3 separate regions of the Homo sapiens genome follow, and all the other regions are linked to region 2. Evidence: promoter capture Hi-C in 16 types of primary human blood cells and fetal thymus (Javierre and others, 2016). All regions are on one chromosome and are shown on one strand. Each heading gives the region's core, a stretch centred on a gene start or on the middle of the fragment in contact. The rest is flanking DNA. Distances are from core to core; before and after follow the strand shown. Region 1 has its middle 18 kb from the start of LIN28A. Region 2 holds the start of PDIK1L (PDLIM1 interacting kinase 1 like). Region 3 overlaps DHDDS (dehydrodolichyl diphosphate synthase subunit).

The links. The method cuts DNA at HindIII sites, captures the fragments that hold promoters and counts their contacts. A CHiCAGO score of 5 or more calls a contact.
Region 1: a contact is called between a fragment that was not itself captured here and the fragment with the promoter of PDIK1L in region 2, in 9 of 17 cell types (M2 macrophages, M0 macrophages, M1 macrophages and 6 more). The highest score is 15.4, in M2 macrophages.
Region 3: a fragment that was not itself captured here is called in contact with the fragment with the promoter of PDIK1L in region 2 in 1 of 17 cell types (total B cells); the score reaches 5.6 in total B cells.

Annotation. Positions count from the first base shown.
Region 1 is chr1:26,391,306-26,394,005 of GRCh38, forward strand. No RefSeq gene overlaps it. Among named protein-coding and RNA genes, the nearest start is that of LIN28A, 18 kb to the right of the region's middle. The HindIII fragment of the contact is 2,342 bases long and covers 101-2,442 here.
Region 2 is chr1:26,110,425-26,113,124 of GRCh38, forward strand. PDIK1L (PDLIM1 interacting kinase 1 like) reads left to right here and starts at 1,400. Exons shown (of 3, transcript NM_152835.5): 1 at 1,400-1,491. RefSeq lists silencers at 414-693, 754-1,393 and enhancers at 1,444-1,673, 2,054-2,163. The HindIII fragment of the contact is 5,419 bases long and covers 1-2,700 here.
Region 3 is chr1:26,464,690-26,467,389 of GRCh38, forward strand. All of the region lies in intron 8 of DHDDS (dehydrodolichyl diphosphate synthase subunit), which reads left to right. It overlaps DHDDS-AS1 (DHDDS antisense RNA 1), which reads right to left. Exons shown (of 3, transcript NR_125953.1): 1 at 2,359-2,700. Among named protein-coding and RNA genes, the nearest start is that of DHDDS-AS1, 1.5 kb to the right of the region's middle. The HindIII fragment of the contact is 1,205 bases long and covers 763-1,967 here.

The DNA of each region.
Region 1 (2,700 bases), core at 22-2,521, 280 kb after region 2:
CACACATACAAACGCCCCCCCTTTACCTCTTTTTCACATTTTCTTTGGTCAAGATTTAGGCATCTGTTAAGTCTCTGTTTCAAAATCAGTTTCTGAGGAAAGCTTTTTTCTGATCTCCTTTCCCTTAAATTAAATCACTATAACTATTTGTTCACTGTAATCCTGCCCTGCTGGTGCCACAAGGCCTGGAACCTCATTTGTCTGTGTATCTATCTTGTTCATGCCTGTATTTTTCCAGTCTGTGGCATGGTGTCTGGCACATAGTGGCACTCAAACAACGTTTCAATGTATGAATGAATGAATGAACAACGGAACTTAGTGATGGTGGATGAGGAAAGGGGTCATGTGGGGTAAGGGTGTCCCCTGCTGGACATTGAGAGTACCCAGGGCATCCTCTCTGAGCTGGGAAGAATGACTCTCGGTCATAAATTTCCTCCCTGAGGGGCAGAGTTGGGGAACCTCACCTTATGCCCAGACTGCTGATGCATGCCTTCTTCTTACCTCTATCAGCCCCCACACCACTGTCCTCCCAGCCTTCAGAGCATCCGTCCCCACCCCCAGTGGCCTGACCCACCCTCCCCCACGCTGCAGACCACATCAGCAAGGCTGTGGAGCGCCACAGCGATTTCTGCATCCTCTCCACAATGAATATCCACCCCCTCTTAAACCTTTTGCTTTGAATAAGAATAGGCCCAGAGTCCTCCATCGATCCTCTTTCCCCCTCCTCCCAAATCAATCAATCAGTAGTGATTGGCTGGGACACTGGGGTGGAGGTGGACGAGGACTGGTGGGTGAAGAGCAAGGAAAGTTGGTGGGGTGGTGGTGGGGTAGGTGAGTGTGTTTCTGAAACAGGATCCCGCTAAAAGTATGGCAGAACAGTGGATTTCTCTGGAGGAGAATAGTTGGTGAGAAGATACCTGGGATGAGGTATTTAGAAAAAGGTGAATGAGAAATTCCTGACTACTGTCTTTTTTTTTTTTTTTTTTTGAGATGTAGTCTTGCTCTTGTTGCCAAGGCTAGAGTGCAATGGGGCAATCTTGGCTCACTGCCACCTCCACCTCCCGGGCTCAAGTGATTCTCCTGCCTCAGTCTCCCAAATAGCTGGGATTACAGGTGCCTGCCACCAAGCCTGGCAAATTTTTTGTATTTTTAGTAGAGATGGGGTTTCACCATGGTAGCCAGACTGGTCTCGAACTCCTGACCTCTGGTGATCCACCTGCCTCCGCCTCCCAAAGTGCTGGAATTATAGGAGTGAGCCACCGCACCCGGCCTCTGACTACTGTCTTGGCTGACAAAAGGGTAAAATACCTCCAGTTTATATAAAGTGTGAGCACAATGGGAGGAGGGGGTTCATAAAAGATTGGACTAAGAGGAACATGGTGAGGAGCACGGGGGTTCTGTGAGGGGAGTCAGGGCTCAGTGCTAAGGACATGGAGGAGTAGAGAGGGCAGGAGGAAGCCTCTTGGCCGAGGGTAAAAAGAAGTGGGTGGGGGTCAAAGAGAGATAGAGGTCACTTCTCTTCCAGTGAGGATGGGAAGAACCAGACCACACCTGTGACTCTCCATATAGTTCCCATCCCTGGCCCCTCCCCCAGCCATGCCCCAAAATGGGGCTGGGGAAGAGTGACAGTTACTTAATGACTCTGAGTCCCACTAGCTCTTCTGGGCAGCCTATGGTCACTGGGGGGCCAAAGGGGACTGAAGCCAAAGTCCAAGTTATTGATCTCTGGCCCCAAAGGTCAGCTTCAGGGGCAGAGGGAGTGGTGTTGCCATGGTGGGAGACTCGAGGGACCCCACAACAGAGGGGCTGTGCTGCAGCCCAGTTTTCACGTCTGCATCCTTAGTGCCCCATGATCCTATACACACACACACACACACACACTCCCACACCCCTCTATCCTGTCTTGCTTGAAATTTCTGCCTGATGGGATGTCTCAGAATAGACTCTTGGGTGTCTAGCCTTTGGGGTGTCTAGGGAGTATAAAAGGAGAGCCTTAGATGGAATTATTTATTTACTACTACCCCCGTCCCCAAGACAAAGCCCTGGGAGTCCATGAACTCTTTGGTGAATCCCATTAAAAAAAACACCAATCTGGTTGTCAGGAAGAAAGGATGGCAACAATTTTTGCTGTGTAGCCTTGACAAAGCATTTACCTTCTATGAGTCTTAGTTCCCTTATCTATAAATGAAGGGATTGAATCAGATGAGCTCTAAGTTCCTTTCCGGATAAGTGACCTAAGATTCTGAGGAATTAGAGGGGACAGGCCTGACAGCAGGGGTTAGGAGTAAGAACTAGGTTAGGTTCGGGAGATGGTAAAAACAAATTCTTGGACTTGGAAATAAAATCTGCATTCTAATTTTGGCCATTATTAACTGTGGAAACTGGGGCAAGTCATGCATTTATTAATTCAACAAACATTTAATAAGCAATTACGTTATCCCAAGCTTTGTGCTGCATACTGACACAATGAACAAAACATAGTCCCTGGCTTATGGGGTTTACATTGTAGTGGTCAGTGGGAAAGAAAGACAAATAAGCAAATATATATAATACAGTGGGACAAATGCTCTGTCACAGATGTGTAGAGCACTATAAAAAATGGGAAAGGGGGCCAGGGGCTGGGACTCACACCTGTAATCCCAGCAATTTTGGGAGGCCGAGGCGGGGGGGGATCACCTGAGGTCAGGAGTTCGAGACCAG
Region 2 (2,700 bases), core at 150-2,649:
AGGTAGACACATCCCAAAACAGACACTTCAGTGAGAAGAGGCAGAGGTGTTTCCTCACCTGTAAAAACAGGATAATAAAACCTACTCTTGTGGGGTTTGGTTAGGATTAAGCAAGATCATTTATATAAAGACCTAACCCAGTGCCAGACTCTCGGGAGAAGGGGCATAAAGGACAGAAAATAAAATGAGTTGATCTTTGAGCACAGCGACAGGGATTTTTTGTACATCGTGCCTTACAGAGCGAGCGCTGGGAGGAGGAATCATCACCCTGCTGAGAAGTAATGGGTGCAGAATAAATCGAGTAAGAAGGAATGGACTTTTCTGGCGGATGCTTACTGATCTAACAACTGGATGACTGAGGAATGCGGTCCTAAGTGACCCCGGGCTGGCTGTGGGGCCAACAGCGTGCGGGATCTGACTAACAGCGTGTGGCAGCCGAGCGACTGCAGCAGCGGCGGGGACCCCATTGACTGTCCAGCCCCGAGAGCGGCAGGAGCGCGGTGGATCCTGGCTCGGACCAAGGCCTCTCCCCTGCGCCGACTGCAGACCAACCCTCCACCAGGAGCCTCGCGGGGGGGCGCCGTGGGCACCGCAGCCAGGTGCAGGCGCCTCCGCGCCCTCACTCCCCACGCCGAGGAGGTGGCCCTGGCTCCCTGCGGCCGCAGCCGGGGAACAATGAGGCGCCGGCCTCTTTAAGGGAGATACCACCGCGCCGGCGGGGCAGGGGACGGCATCCTCCCAGATGATCGCACCCAGCCCCGCGCCGCCGCCGCCGCCGCCGTCTCCGCAACTGCACCGCCCGCAAACATGGCTCAGTGACTCGGAGAAAAGCTGCAGTCTCCCTCCCGGCGGGGCGGACGCCAGGCCTCCTTGGTCGGGCCGCACCTCCCCGCAGGCCCGCCAAAGAGCACCGCGCCCCGCAGGCACCCGAGACCCGCGCGGAAGATGCACCGGGCGTTCCACCCCAGCGAGCCCCGCACCCCAGCCCGCAGCTCGGTAGGTCGGAAGGGGGCGGGTAGAGGGAGGGGAGGCCGCGGCCGGGCGCGCGCAGCCCCAGGCCCGGACCTGCCGCTGCAGACGGTCCCCGGGGCCGCGGGCCCTGAGCGCCCGCTGCGGCTGGAGGGTGGCCGAGCCCCGGCGTGGCGTGGCCTCGCGGTTCCCGAGCCCGGCCACCCCTGCGGGGAGCAGCACCAGTGGTGCGCTCCGGAGCGCGCACACCTCCGACGACTCCCGGCTCTGCAAATCCTCGAGAGAGGGAGGAGGCGAGCGGAGCGCCGGCCGCGCGCCTCGTCGGTGGCGCGGAACGTCCCGGCTCGCGCTACGGAAAGCCGGAGGGGGGCGGGGCCGTCGGCGTAAGGGGGTGTGTCCGCGCGCACCACGGGGGCGCGCGCCGGCTGCTGACTGGAGGCGGCGGCAGCGGAGGCGCGAGCTGCCCGATAATGGCGGCCTGCAGAGCCCATGAGAGGGAGAAGCGGCAGCGTCTACCCTGAGGTAAATCTGGCCTTTCGGCGTGGCGGAGAGGTCTTGCTGCAGAGCCGATGGCCCTGCATGTGCCTCCCTCCCTGGGAGGCTTGTCACAGACGTGTCAGCGGAGTCATCCTGGGGAAGGCCCTGCGCTCCTCAGGCCACCGACCCCAGTCGCGGCCTCCTCTCATACCGGGGCCACCTCCCCCCGGCCCTCAGCCCCCAGCCCCGAGGAGTTGAGGCAACTGCAGGGCTGGCTCCTCAGAGCGAAGGGGCTCAGGAGGCTCCCCTCCGGGCTTCATCTGAGCACGGCCGAGGAGGGGGAGGGCCTGACACTTGGCCAATGAGCGCGGCCTGAGCCGCCGCGTCGGGCAACACCTCTGGCCGCGACTGGCCCTTCCCGGGCGCCGGCAGGTGTCTGGCCTGGCCGGCTCGCGTCCCAGCGCCTGGTTAGAGCAGCGGGAGCGAGGGCCCGCCACTTTCGGTCGAAAGTCACTTAGGTTCGCATCGGATGCATCATTGGATCCGGGATCCCACGGGTTTCATAAACACCTCTCTCCTCCCTATTCAGGAAGGTGCTCTTCCCCATGGGGACTGTACCAGGCTGGAGAGGACATGGCACTGCTTCAGAGACACGAACCACCTTGAGTGGATGTGATTGGCGATCCCCGTAGAGCAGGAAAGCTCGTCTGCTGTGCAGCCGGCGCAGAGGATTCTGTGGCAGGAAATTAGACACTAGGAAATTCAGTAGCGATTTGAAGGGTGGGTGTCCAGTTAGAGGAAGTGGGACTGAACACAATCTCAGAAGTCATTTCTTTTTATTAAATCTATCCTGTAGACTTAAAGCAGTGGATCCCAACTTCTCAGGCTCTAGGGTCAGTAGCCTTTTGCTTCCCCAGCTGTACAGAATAAATATTGTACAATCTCAGGTTACTTTTCTAGCCCGTGGTCACAATCTACAAATGAGAATTCGTTCATGAAGTTGGTTATAATCTAGAAATTCTTTGGGCGCTGAGGAAGCCCACTTTAGACTTTCTCCATTCAACACATGAGCATTTCTGTGCAGGGCCTTTGCCCTCGCCTTTAAACCGTTCAGTAAGTTGAATTCCCAAGAACTCTGTCAGAGAGCCCCTTGATATGCAGGATCTTTGTTGGCAAAAATGACCTAGAACTAAATAGATATTGTTTACTCCAGCTGTCTTATGACTAGGAAAAAGGAAACATAAAAATTTTAAA
Region 3 (2,700 bases), core at 115-2,614, 350 kb after region 2:
AAACTGGACTCTTCCCAGTTACCTGTTCCATGCCCTCCAGTTTCCTACCTGTATGTCTGTGCTCTTGCCCCATCACCCAAATTCCCATTTTAAAATCTGAGCTGCTCTGTCTCTAGGCCCTGCCCAATGTGTCCCTATTCTCTGCAGGAAGCCAGGGCAAGGGGCTAGGCTCTGGACCTAGAGTAGCTTACTGAGAGGAAGGCAGCGGGTGGATCGTAAGGGAAGCAGGGACTTGGCTACAAGTTGTGGGGAGCCAGACCTTGGTATCTGAATGGACCATGACAGTCTCCAGGTGGTCACCTAGCCAGTCTTAAAGGCTGGCAAAGGGAGATCTTGACTATGATGCAGTAGGACTTGTCAGCAAAGAGGCAGGGACAAATAGAGAATCAGGCCAGGGAGGGGGTGTGCGGCAGTGCAGAGCAGCTGATCCTCAATCACAAGTTGCATGGATGGTAGGTCCTTGAGAGGTCACTGATGGAGATGAGTAAAAAGTGTTCACCTCATCTCCAAGGATGATATTAGAGAGGGAAAAGACACATGTTCCCACGAAGCTTCCTGTAGTACATTTGTCACAATTTAAACGGGCTGGATTGAACATTATATTTCTTCTGCTCTTCAGGTTGTCACTATCTTCTCCTCAGGATAAAAGCTTGAGTTATGTATGTATGCATATATGTATGCATGTGGAAATGGGGTCTCGCCATGTTGCCCAGGCTGGTCTTGAGCAGCTGGGCTCAAGCGAGCCTCCCACCTTAGCCTAAAAGCTTGAGTTAATGTCTCAGACATTCATGACTTTGAATATTGGCACTGCCTACATAGCTATATGACTGTACAGTTACTTAACCCCTCAGAGTATCATTTTCCTCACCTGTAAAATGAGAGAAGTAGCGTTTACAGTAATACCTACCTTGCAGGTTTGTGATAGGGATTCAGTAAGCTAACACATGTCAAGTGCTGAGTGCAGTGGCTGGAACAGAGTTCATTTTCCAAGAATGGTGGCCAATATTGTTCCCCACATGTGTGTCTCTTGGCCTCTCCTCAGACTCCTCTCTGGAAAAGCACCCTGCACATCCTGTCCCCAGTACAACTCCCCAGGCAAGGAGACTCTGAGGGTGCTTCAGAACATCATGTTTCTGGTAGGAGGTGCCCTTCTCTGCCTGAGAGCAGCCCTCAGAAATGCATTCCTCATGCTGCTGACCTGGGCTGGCTGGTTGCAGCTTGGGGAAGGACTTTTCATTGGCTAATGTTTTGAAGCCAAGGACCTGCAGCCTCTCTCCAGGTGCCAACAGAGTGGTAGAGGACTTTTAGATTTAAGTACTGGAGGGACTATTACATCTTGTTCTCTGATTCTACCAAGGAGAGAATAAGAGCAGAGAGGGATAATGCCCAGGAGGAATTTAGATTCATAGGTTAGAACCACATTTCTCAAAGTGAGCTTCTTGGAGCCCTTGCACCAAGATTGGATAAGGTCTGTACAAAAAGTCTCTAAGGAAAGAATTAACGCCCTCACTTACCCTGATTGGTCATTATACAAGGATAGTAGACAAATGGTCAGGGAGAGAAAAGTTGACCTCTAGGACTTCTGTTAGCTTGGATTTCCCAAGGGTAAGTACTTGAGAAGAACTGGAAACACCTCTGAGATTGAAAGGGTAGATTCAGACCATGTGGAAGCTGGATAGACAGGTATCCAGATACAGGCCACCAGCTTTTCCACCCCTAGAAAGTAGAGCTTATACACAGGCACGAGATACACTTCACATTGTCCTCTCAAGAAGTTATCTTAGTGGAGAAGCCAAGGGAACTTCAGCCATCTCAGCCTCGCTGTCATTTTCTGTAAAATGACGAGCAGACACCCTCCCAACTCTGCTATCTGAACAATGAACTGCTAATTCCTGGCAGACAGGGGCCAGGCTCTGCCTGGGCTACAGCCCCCATTGCTGGCATGCACTCTGATGCCATCTGGAAGAAGCTTGCGCCTCATGAAGTGGCTTTAGCTAGCTCCATATTTCCTCCCTCTGTTGCTGAGCGTCCCCCATCCTTTCTGTTCTGCCAGAAACTTAGACTACTTAGCCCAGTCCACAAGTGGCGGTGATAGAACAGCTAACAGTTAATAGCCAAGCAGTAGGCTGAAAATTCATTATCTCATTTTTCCTCAAACAACCCAGTGAGGTGGGTACTCTTATCCCGGTTTTGCAGAGTAAGAGAGAGCCTTAGAGAGGTGAGGGAGGCCTTAGGAACTTCTCAAACCCCAGTGCTCCAGGTGGACTTACTCTGGCCTTAACAGGCTCTTCGGTTCCATGCATCTTTGCTCATTACTCCCACTGCCAGAATATTCTCCCTGCCCCCCACACACCTCACCTCTGTTTGAATCCTCCTCATTGGTTAAAGGGCCAGCTCAAATTCTGTCTGTCCATGAAGGTCACTGCTCCGTGATGTTCATCAGCCACACTTGCTTTCTCCTCTGAACTGCATGACCCTTACCACATCCTATTTTGCATCGTGGCACTCTGTGTGCATGGCTGTACAATCAGCCTGTAAGCACCTGGATTGCTGGGATCGTGTCCTGCGCATCTCCATATCCTCAAAAAAAATCCTGTATGTAGCACCCAGGGAGCCTCCTGACCAAGGCCTGGAAGAAGCCCTTCCAGCAAGACGGAGAGCTCTACGGCAACTGTTCAAGCCCGAAGTCCTCATAGCTCC